Regions from separate parts of the Homo sapiens genome. Here all the other regions are linked to region 1. The links are contacts of gene promoters, found by promoter capture Hi-C in blood cells and fetal thymus (Javierre and others, 2016). All regions are on one chromosome and are shown on one strand. The core of a region is centred on a gene start or on the middle of the fragment in contact, and the rest is flanking DNA. Distances in the headings are between cores, read along the strand shown.

Region 1 (3,567 bases), core at 688-3,187:
CACTCCAGCCTGGATGACAGAGTGAGACTGTCTCCAAAAAAATTGTTTTAGTTCAAGAGAATGGAAACAATGGTAGTGAGGAAAAGCAATGTTGTATCCCGAACTTTTCCTCAACAAAGAAAATAAATTGGCACAGTTACATTAGTTCACAAAGGTATTCCGAGTAGAAAAAAAATCTTTTTTTTTCATTTAATTTTATTCTTTTCTTACAGACTCGTTCAAAACAAGCCATGACTCCTCAGCAAAACAGCTCCATCAAGCGTCTCGCCAACCTCTCCCTTGGGGCTCAGTCAAGGGAATGAAAAAACGAGGCTAGACACCTGTCCCCAACGGAAAAACCAAGAACACACCTGGAGAGCAGCTCAGACAAAGGGAGCCAGGCGGGGAAAACAGTAATTGGAGAGGAGACCGTGCTTCCAGTCTGTTGCTGGTTTACAAGGTAAATCTATTCCTGGACGAAAGGGGTACAGGAACAGCACCCGAAAACCGGCGACAGGCTGTGGCAGGCCCGACGTCTTTCAAGCCCAGCTCCTAGCGTCGACGCCCCTCCTTCCAAGACGTTTCCCAGCAGGCCCTGCGCCCAGTTTGGATCAAGTGAGCCGCCTGAGATTGCCAAGCGTCCTGTGCGCATCTCATTAACGCATCTGCTTATTCATGCATTTATTCTTTTGCTGGGGAGGGGGTGGAGGGGAACGGTGTCTCACTCATTCTGTAGCTCAGGCTGGAGTGCAGGTGGGGCGATCTCGGCTCACGGCAACCTCCGCCTCCCAGGTTCAAGCGATTCTTGTGCCTCAGCCTCCCAAGTAGTTGGGATTACAGGTGCACACGACCACGCCTGGGTAATTTTTGTACTTTTGGTGGAGACGGCGTTTCACCATGTTGGCCAGCCTGGTCTCGAACCCCTGACCCCCGGTGATCTATCCACCTTGGCCTCCCAAAGTGTAAGGATTATAGGCGTGATCCACGGCACCCGGCCTTATGCATTTATTCTTATTGAGCATCTAACATGCTCTAAGCATCGGGGGCAAAAAAGTAAATGAGATATAACAGCACTTAACACACAGCATTTATTTGCACGGGTGTTGGCTTTCTAGCCCTCCAGCGACTGCTTCTAGGTAGGGGCCCTCTTTCGTTTTTGCATCCTCCGAGTCTAGCACAGTGCCTGGCACTGACTAGGTGCTTTGTTAACAAAGGAATGACTTTAAAAGGTATTTTTGATAGGGAGCTCGGTTCTCAAACCTGTAGCCCTACGTGGGGTAGGGGAGGCGGGAGAATGGGTGAACAGGCAGACACGAGGAGAATGGGAGACGTGTTTGTATTAGGAGTGCTCACAGCAATCCACAGCTTCCCTGTGTTCCTCGTTCTCAAATAAGAGGAGGGGAGTCGAGGGCAGGATGGGGCAGCCCTCCCCGCGCAGGAGGGCTGGGTTTGGGGGCCCCAGCCGGGAGTTCTCACTGCGCTCCCGAGCCCGCCTGCCCACCCGCGCCGCTCACCAGGTCAATGGCCACGACGTCCCGCAGAGCCACTACCCGCCGGATGGACTTGGGCGGGTTCTCGGTTAGGTAGACGAGCCGGTCGCTTAGCACCACATACTTGAGGATGTGGTTCTCAGAGTTGGACACCACGATGCATGGCTCGTAGGCGCGGACCGCGTCGTAGACCTCGGGCGGCAGATGCCGCCGCAGGAACACATCCAGGCGGCTGTTCCTGCGCGCGGGGAAGCCGGACGGCAAGGGGCTGGCCATGCCCGGCGCCCGCAGCGTGGCGGAGTGCTGGGACTCGAGGCCCTCAGCTCGCCCTCTCCCCGCCCCCGCGCTGGAACCCGCGCGCCACAAAGCCGCCGGCCACGCGTCGCCTCCTCTCCAGGCGCGGGGACCCGGGCCGCAACTGCAGGAATCGACGCTAGGTCGGCTTCCCTGGAGCGCCCTCCCCAGCCCTGTCCAGCCTCTCGATCTTTGTCCTAACCTCAGACGGCGATGGGCGGGGCAAGACGCTGGTCCTTCAGGCCCGAGTTGATGGGCACCTCGGGCTCATCACCGTGAAGTCCCCTGCGGCCGAAGGGCGGTGGATTTTTAGGGTCTCTCCCGCCCACCCCTAATGCCAGTCCCCACCACTGCGTACTCTGTTGCGGATCACACCATCCAATACAAACTTTATTGGTAATGGAAGCCAGCTTCAATCTGGTTTCCTGTTAGAAACTTGAAAGAGTTTAATTTACCGATTTATTTTTAACAACCCTAGAAACCTATTAAACCCAATCACACAGATTTAGCTTTTGGTTATAACATGGCCTGGCACAGCTTTCTGATATTGTCGGAGTGTAAACATAGGTCTTCTTTCTCCAACCAGTGAGAAAGGGATTTTTTTTTTCTTTTCTCTTTTTTTTTTTGAGACGCAGCTTTGCTCTTGTTGCCCAGGCTGGAGTGCAATGGCGCCATCTCGGCTCACCGCAACCTCCCCCTCCCGGGTTCAAGCGATTCTCCTACCTCAGCCTCCTGAGTAGCTGGAATTACAGGCATGCGCCACCACGCCCAGCTAATTTTGTATATTTTAGTAAAAACGGGGTTTCTCCATGTTGGTCAAGCTGATCTCCAACTCCCGACCTCAGGTAATCCGCCCGCCTCGGCCTCCCAAAGTGCTGGGATTACAGGCGTTAAGTCACCTCGCCCAGCCTTTGAGAAAGGGATTCTTCACATGAATTGATGTGAGCACACCCAAACCAACCTAAGGCATATGGTTTTGTTTCCAATGCCCAGGACAATCTATGCAGGAAGAATGAATGGGTGATGCTGGCATCTTGAAAAGTTGAAGCTGATAGACTGAAGAATGCGGATTACATACCCTGAGGCTGCAGAGGAGTAAGTATTCCTTAGTTTTTACAGGCCAAGAATAACTTACTAATTAGGTTAGAGAAATGAGAAGGGCACAACAGAAATGCTCTAAGTCAGAAGTTCCATTTTTTATTTCGAATCCTAGAAAAGTTATTCTCTTCCCCTCCCCATTGACCCAAAAACCTGATAATGAAACCATATCGTTCATTGCTGTGGCTGCCAGCAACCCTGAATCAAATTTGATATATTCTTTATATTCTCCCTTTCTACATATTTTATTATTGTATACTGTATGTTATAAGCAACTTCAAATCCCTTGTGGAAAGAAGGTATAAATATATTACAATCCATAAACAGATATTGTAGACTACACTAGTACAAAGGGAAAGAGAAATGTTTTGGTCTGGCTAAACTTTTTTTTTTTTTTTTTTTTTGAGACAGAGTCTCCCTCTGTCACCCAGGCTGGAGTGCAGTGGCATGATATCGGCTCACTGCAGCCTCTGCCTCCTGGGTTCAAGCCATTCTCCTGCCACAGCCTCCCAAGTAGCTTGGACTACAGGTGTACACCACCATGCCTGGCTAATTTTTTTTCTGTGTGTATTTTTAGTAGAGACAGGATTTCACCATCTTGGCCATGGCTTGTCTCCTGACTTCAACTGATCTGCCTGCCTTGACCTCCCAAAGTGCTGGGAATACAGGCATGAACCACCGCCATGTAAGGGTCTGGCTAGACTTA
Region 2 (3,229 bases), core at 385-2,884, 300 kb after region 1:
CCCCTTGTTGTTGACTTCAGTATTTCAGAGCCCTAATTGTGACCTTCCTTTTGTGTATAATAGTCACCAGTTGAGGATGTTGTTTCCTTTGAGCCTGTAGCCTAGACATATCCCCCAAGCTTTAATAAGTTTTGTGGTTTGGCTAGCATCTGCTCCGTTGGATTGTAACCTCGCAAATGGACCCTGACCTTTTGCCAGTAGCTTCAGAGGCATGAGTCTGGGGCCGGCAGTCAGCCACAGCATCAGGAGGCTTCTTCAGTGTCCACATCTGCCCTGCAGACCTTGCCTCTGGAAGCACTTTGCCTGGTGTGTTAACCGCCCTCTGAGGTCATTCCTTTGGGGGCAATCTTTAGTGAAGTTCTGCCACAAACCTCAAGAGAAGAGAACAAAGGAGTGTTTCACCTTCCCGTTTTGTTTTGATATGCTTCTTCCCTAAAGTGCCACCATCCACCCAGCTAAGTGTGTGCTTCTCTCCCTGCTTCAGAATTCAAATGGGATTTACACTGGCTTCATTAAAGTACAGATGGAACTCTGCAAACCTCCACAGACTTCTCCAAATTCTGGAAAACTCTCTCCCAGTAGCAATGGCTGTATGAATACACTTCATATCAGCAGCACAAACACTGTCGGGGAAGTGATCGAGGCCCTGCTCAAAAAGTTTCTCGTGACTGAGAGCCCTGCCAAGTTTGCACTTTATAAGCGTTGTCACAGGGAAGACCAAGGTACGCTGCCAGCTTAAAAGGAAAATGGTCTGTGCTTCTACTTGCATCTGCTGTTCTCATTAGCAGAGGGAAGACTGGTGGGTCTCATCCATGTCAGTTGTGTCAGAGCCTGGAGTCCGATGCTGGAAGCCATGGTGATCTTAGCATGCACTTAGTGCTTCCTGGCTGTCCATATTTTTGAGTTGGACAGTTGAGGGTCTGAGGAGCTTGGAAGCATCCATATGTGATTGGCAGTTACGAGTATTTTGTGGTGTTGGTGGGGGGATGGGGCGGGGGCTGTTTTTGGTGGTTGTTAGGAGTGGCTTTGATTTTAGTTTTCTTTAGGACACAAAAGAGTGCCTCTGTGTTTGAAGTTTTCAATAGCACATTCCACATTTGATGTGCATCAGTACGTGGAGTGGTTTGGTGGATGTGTGCTGAGATCTTGCGACTGGGGAGGCACATGTGCATCACAGCACATTTCAGCGTACTGATGGAAACGGCCCAGCCCTGGGCTCTCCTGTTGCCTTAGCTTGTCTCACTTGGTGTTACGCCGGGACATTTTGGTACTCTGTCCCCCAGAGGCTCATCAAATGAGTGAATAACATTTTGATCTAGGGTCTGACTAAAACTTCATATCCACATTCAGGGGATAGAAAGAGAACATTAAATATTAAATTACTGCGTGAAACAGAATGAGATATTCCAGGTCAGGCAGTGACCAGAAATTGATAACATTGGTGGACAGTAGTGATTCAGTGACTCACTACATGCGATTTGAAATCGGGGTGTGTGTGTGTGTGTGTGTGTGTGTACAATAAACTATTTAAGCTTTCTTTGGTTTTTCTCGGTAAAGCCTAATGTAGCTATAGAAGAAAATATATTAACCTTGACATGATAGTAATGTTCTTCAGTTACACAGGATGAAACCCAGCTCATTGCTGAGTATGCATACATCTTTTTAAAAACAAACCATGGGGCTAGACCCTGTGGAATACAAAGATGAACAGGCCAGGGTTCCTACCTTCAGAGGTCACAAGCTTAGTATTGTGGGGGCTTATATCTATAGGGAAATTGGCACCTGCGATGCAGTGCATCTGGAAGTGCCACAATAATGTAGAGAAGCTCGATGGCATTTTTATCTGCCAGTTTCTTTGCCTGCTCACCTGGACTTTAGCTGTACAATCTGAAAGTAATCGTGACTTGTTGAAATATTACCCCCATGGCTGGCAAATCCTTTAACATGATTGGCAATGTCACTGTATGTGTGTGTCTAGCATGAGACATATATAGCTGTGCTTGAAGCTACCGGAGCTTATATTCTGATTGCTTGGTTTGTAGCTGCTAATTCGCTAATTCTTTTTTTTTTTTTGAGACGGAGTCTCGTTCTGTCACCCAGGCTGGAGGTGCAGTGGCGCAATCTTGGCTCACTGCAAGCTCCACCTCCCGGGTTCACGCCATTCTCCTGCCTCAGCCTCCCGAGTAGCTGGGACTTACAGGCGCCCGCCACCACGTCTGGCTAATTTTTTTGTGTTTTTAGTAGAGACGGGATTTCACTGTGTTAGCTAGGATGGTCTCGATCTCCTGACCTTGTGATCCGCCCGCCTCAGCCTCCCAAAGTGCTGGGATTGCAGGTGTGAGCCACCGCGCCTGGCCTCGCTAATTCTTAATTAATCTGTAGAGAGATTTGCTTTTAGAACTCTTGTTTTTATGTTCTTTGGATGGTATATACATTTTTTTTTAAATTTGTTTTTTGTTTGTTTGTTTGAGACGGAGTCTTGCTCTGTTGCCCAGGCTGGTGTGCAGTGGCACAATCTCGGCTCACTGCAACCTCCGCCTCCTGGGTTCCAGTGATTCTCCTGCCTCAGCCTCCCAAGTAGCTACAATTACAAGTGCCCACCACCATGCCCAGCTAACTTTTGTATTTTTAGTAGAGACAGAGTTTCACCATGTTGGTGGCCAGGCTGGTCTCAAACTCCTGACCCCAGGCAATCTGCCTGTCTCGGCCTCCCAAAGTGCTGGGATTACAGGTATGAGCCACCACGCCTGGCCTTGGTTTTTGAGACAGCGTCTTACTCTGTCACCTAGGCTGGAGTACCATGGCATGATCATAGCTCATTGTAACCTTGAACTCCTGGGCTCAAGTGATGCTCTTGCCTCAGCCTCCTAAGTAGCTAGGACTATAGGCGGGCCCCATTATGCCTGGCTAGTTAGAAAAAAAAATTTTTTTTTTTTGGAGACCAGGGTCCTGCTATGTTGCCCTGGCTGGTCTCGAACTCCAGGCCTCAAGTGATCCTCCTGCCTCAGCCTTTAAGTGTTGGGATTACAGGTGCGAGCCACTATGCCTGGCCTATTTTTATTGTTTTTAAAGGAGTAGTGGACCCTTTTTTAGGTTTCTTATCTTGCCTTTTTTTTTTCATTTAAAAAAAATTTTATTTATTTTTTGAGACAGAGTTTCACTCTTGTTGCCCAGGCAGGAGCGCAATGGCACGATCTCGGCTCACTCCAACCTCCACCTCCCAGGTTTG
Region 3 (3,329 bases), core at 751-3,250, 330 kb after region 1:
AAGAAACAGACAGCTGGCTCCATCTACCTTGCATTGGCCAACCAGATGCCAGCCTGGCAGGTCCATGTCCTAGCAGTGGCATGGTCAGGGACTGTTTGGCCACACATCATAATCCAAGAGGTCCAGTCCCTTGACCCTCCATTTAAGATTTAATCAGATGCTGGCTTTAAGTTCCCAGAGTCAGCCAGGGAGTACATGGTTAAAAAACATTAACTGCTATCGACATCTAACTTAATTTGGTTTAAAAGAACATTCTGAGCTAAGTAACTGTTGGAAATTGCAAAGTCAGCACATGTAAACTGGAAGTCTTGTGCTTTTATTTTAGGGACTGGACTTCCTATTTCAGGTAACTGGTACCAAGCTAGGATCTATTTCACTAACTTGGAGGAAAGACCAAAGGAAAGACCAATGGTCAAAATTCTTGACCATTCTTATTGTACTAATGGGATTATCCATATAAAAACAGTTATTTCATTTAAGTGATATAAAATAATAAATATTATCTTTTTATATTGTTACCTGGCTTTAGTTTACTGGTGTCCATGCCACTTTGGCACTATATACATTATTTAAAAGCAAACAATGAACAGTCTATCATCGAGTTTTTCTACTCATTCACATTCATTTGTCTCTAATTTGGACTAAAGATAAAATTTAATACAAAGACGGCTAAAAAATTAAGTGATAACTTTCCATCAACTTAGGACATCATTCTTCCCTCTCTTACAGTCTGAAGGTAGGAACTAAAATATTCCTTTCCCAGTGAAAGTTTGATTTTTAAACTTCATGATCTTCAAGCAAAAGATAAATGACAAGGTTCCTGCCACCAGCAGCTCAAATGCATGGTGTACTGACACCCAGTGTTACTGCTGAAAAGTTACTAAGAAGGACCGTGTGGGGAACAAATCTGACATAGCAGGTGACAGCTAAACATCCTTTATACCTCCATATCGTGCAATGGGCTTATATATTTCAACATCTGAGTTTACACCTTCTATTTTCATTGTGTGTTTAATATATTAAATTCACCAGCAAACATTCAAGTTTCTGTAGTAGGGGTTTCTGAGAAATGAAATGAAGGCATATACTCTTGCAAGCTCTAGGGAACAGGTGAACAGGGCAGCAGTGGGTCGCAGCTTACTTAAAGAAGCCCCAAGTGTCACCAATGCAAACAAGTGGTACCATGACAATAATCACAGCACGAAAATAACAAGAGCCCCATGTTTGGTGGGGAGCAGGGCTGTACCTCTGGCTAAAGTAACAACTGGCAGTGGAGAACAAAAGTTTCAAAAGCTTGATTTTCCCAGCACAACGGGCTGATGCAATTAGAACACAGTATTCCCTCTAAAGCAGAAGAATCATCATCTCACAGCAAAAAGGGCTCCCTTTGCCTTCAAGAACAGCATGTCTACTAGAAAAAACTTGGCCAAGTAAATGAAGAGAAAGGAAACTTACCCGGGGTCAAAAACCCCTGGAGTGCGACAGGTTGGCCCAGAACAGGACTGTAACATCATTAACCGATAGTTCATCTTTCCTAAAAGCTCTGGGTCTATGGTTTTAGCAATGTTAGTGATCTGGTCTGGGTCTGCAGTCAGATTATAGACTTCTACAAACACCTAGAGGACATGAAAGAATGGAGGAAAGAAAAGAGCAAAGGTTAGCCGTGAAGAAATACTCTTAACGTGACTTATTTCTAAAGGGGAAGGGAGGAGGTAGATTAAAAAAAAAAAAAATCAAGGCCCTGGAGACTCTCAATCTGTTTTCAAGATCCTCAAAGAGCTCACTGCTTCCTTGAGATGAGGGAGCATCTGTTCTGGGGGTTCAGTTGCTTCGGGTCTCTAGCCACATGCTAAAAAGGGGCCCCTGCACACCCTGTGCCTTCAGGCAGAGGCAAGAGAGGGTATGGGGAAGAAATGCATTATCTTCTGTAATTAGAACAGAAAGCAGGAGCCTCCAATGGCAAGGTCTCAGAAACAAGACTTGGCAATAAAGTTACTAAAGTGAGAGCGAATATTTAAAGGTGATTTTTGCCCTAGAATTGTGAAGTTCAAATGAGAATGATATGAAAGTACTCTTGCCTGTGTTATACAAATGTTAAGTTTTCCTATTTTAAAAAGTAATTGTGGATATATTGGGGAAGGACACAATACTAATTATTATTTCTAAAATAAGACAGGTCTAACGCAGTACTTTTCCCTCTATAATCTGTATGCTGTTCTCCAAATTGGAGTCAAATGTGAGGCTAGAAAGATGGTAGGTAATTTTGCCTATAATGGCTTCAGGTAGCTGCCCTCACTCACACAATCACTTATAAAGTAGTTATCAAACTGATAAACATTATGGGGGAGCAGGGAACAGGAACTGAGTTTGAGGAAAGCTCTCTTGCTTGTTGTCCAAAGTGCTTATCAGCTGCAAATGGAGTGGAGAATGAGTCCATTTCTGAGAAACACAGATGGGCATCTGTTCCAGATGGTCAGATGAGGGTTGCCAGATGGGGCAGGTGAGCATATGCTGATAAACAGTAAGAAACCACAAGGGACTAGAGTCCATGGGATCCTTCAGATAATCCATACCAACCTGTGTTGGCCAAAAACCACCTTCTTCCATGGATGGACTCCTGGGCCTCTGACCCCCACTCTAATCTATTACAGCAGCATTGGATTATGCTGTGGTGGGAACAGGAGTTTCCGAATACACCAGGTGCTGGTAAGCTTTCTAGAAAATGCTCCAACCAATCTACCAGGGAAGCTAACAGACAAAGCATTTATCATTCTGAAAACGTGAATTGTGCATTTAAAGTGTATATTTGGGTGGTGGTGGGAGTGGAGAGAACTCAATTCAGAAAGATTACAATTAGAGAAGTGAGACATGGCCTTACAACTGAAGGAAACCTAAAGTGAAGCACAGATAAGAAACACAACCTCTTCCCTAGGGAGCAGCCTTGGAATTGCTCTTATGCCACCAAGTCCAGCCAACAAAGCACCAGCAAGAAAGGAGCGGGGGAAGTGCAGGCAGAAGTCCCTCTTACCTCCTGGTCATCAAACTCGCAATACTGCAAATTCCACAATGCTGACATTGTCCTCACACAGGCATAGGTATTGTTATAAGCATCTTCACATACACAGTCTGGGAAGCATTGCTGTAGGGATATTTCAAAAGTTAAATGAAGACAGTTCTTCCATAGTAACAAATACCTAGTTGCCTAGAAGGGCAATCGGCTTGGCTCATGCCGGACATGCAATTTGACAGCAATTAGAAAACCTTCCATGGGGAAGCCAGTAACTCAAAAACAGATGTGAGGTTTTGTTCCTTTGGCTAACTTGATCAAG

Evidence for each region. The method cuts DNA at HindIII sites, captures the fragments that hold promoters and counts their contacts. A CHiCAGO score of 5 or more calls a contact.
Region 2: a fragment that was not itself captured here is called in contact with the fragment with the promoter of C12orf56 in region 1 in 1 of 17 cell types (activated CD4 T cells); the score reaches 5.8 in activated CD4 T cells.
Region 3: a contact is called between a fragment that was not itself captured here and the fragment with the promoter of C12orf56 in region 1, in 1 of 17 cell types (non-activated CD4 T cells). The highest score is 5.8, in non-activated CD4 T cells.

Annotation. Positions count from the first base shown.
Region 1 is chr12:64,388,821-64,392,387 of GRCh38, forward strand. It overlaps C12orf56 (chromosome 12 open reading frame 56), which reads right to left and starts at 1,938. Exons shown (of 13, transcript NM_001170633.2): 1 at 1,494-1,938. The coding sequence starts at 1,745. The HindIII fragment of the contact is 6,871 bases long and covers 1-3,567 here.
Region 2 is chr12:64,687,732-64,690,960 of GRCh38, forward strand. RASSF3 (Ras association domain family member 3) reads left to right here. Exons shown (of 5, transcript NM_178169.4): 3 at 485-722. Among named protein-coding and RNA genes, the nearest start is that of MIR548Z, 67 kb to the left of the region's middle. The HindIII fragment of the contact is 209 bases long and covers 1,531-1,739 here.
Region 3 is chr12:64,718,567-64,721,895 of GRCh38, forward strand. GNS (glucosamine (N-acetyl)-6-sulfatase) reads right to left here. Exons shown (of 14, transcript NM_002076.4): 12 at 3,029-3,139; 13 at 1,456-1,616. Among named protein-coding and RNA genes, the nearest start is that of GNS, 39 kb to the right of the region's middle. The HindIII fragment of the contact is 1,418 bases long and covers 1,292-2,709 here.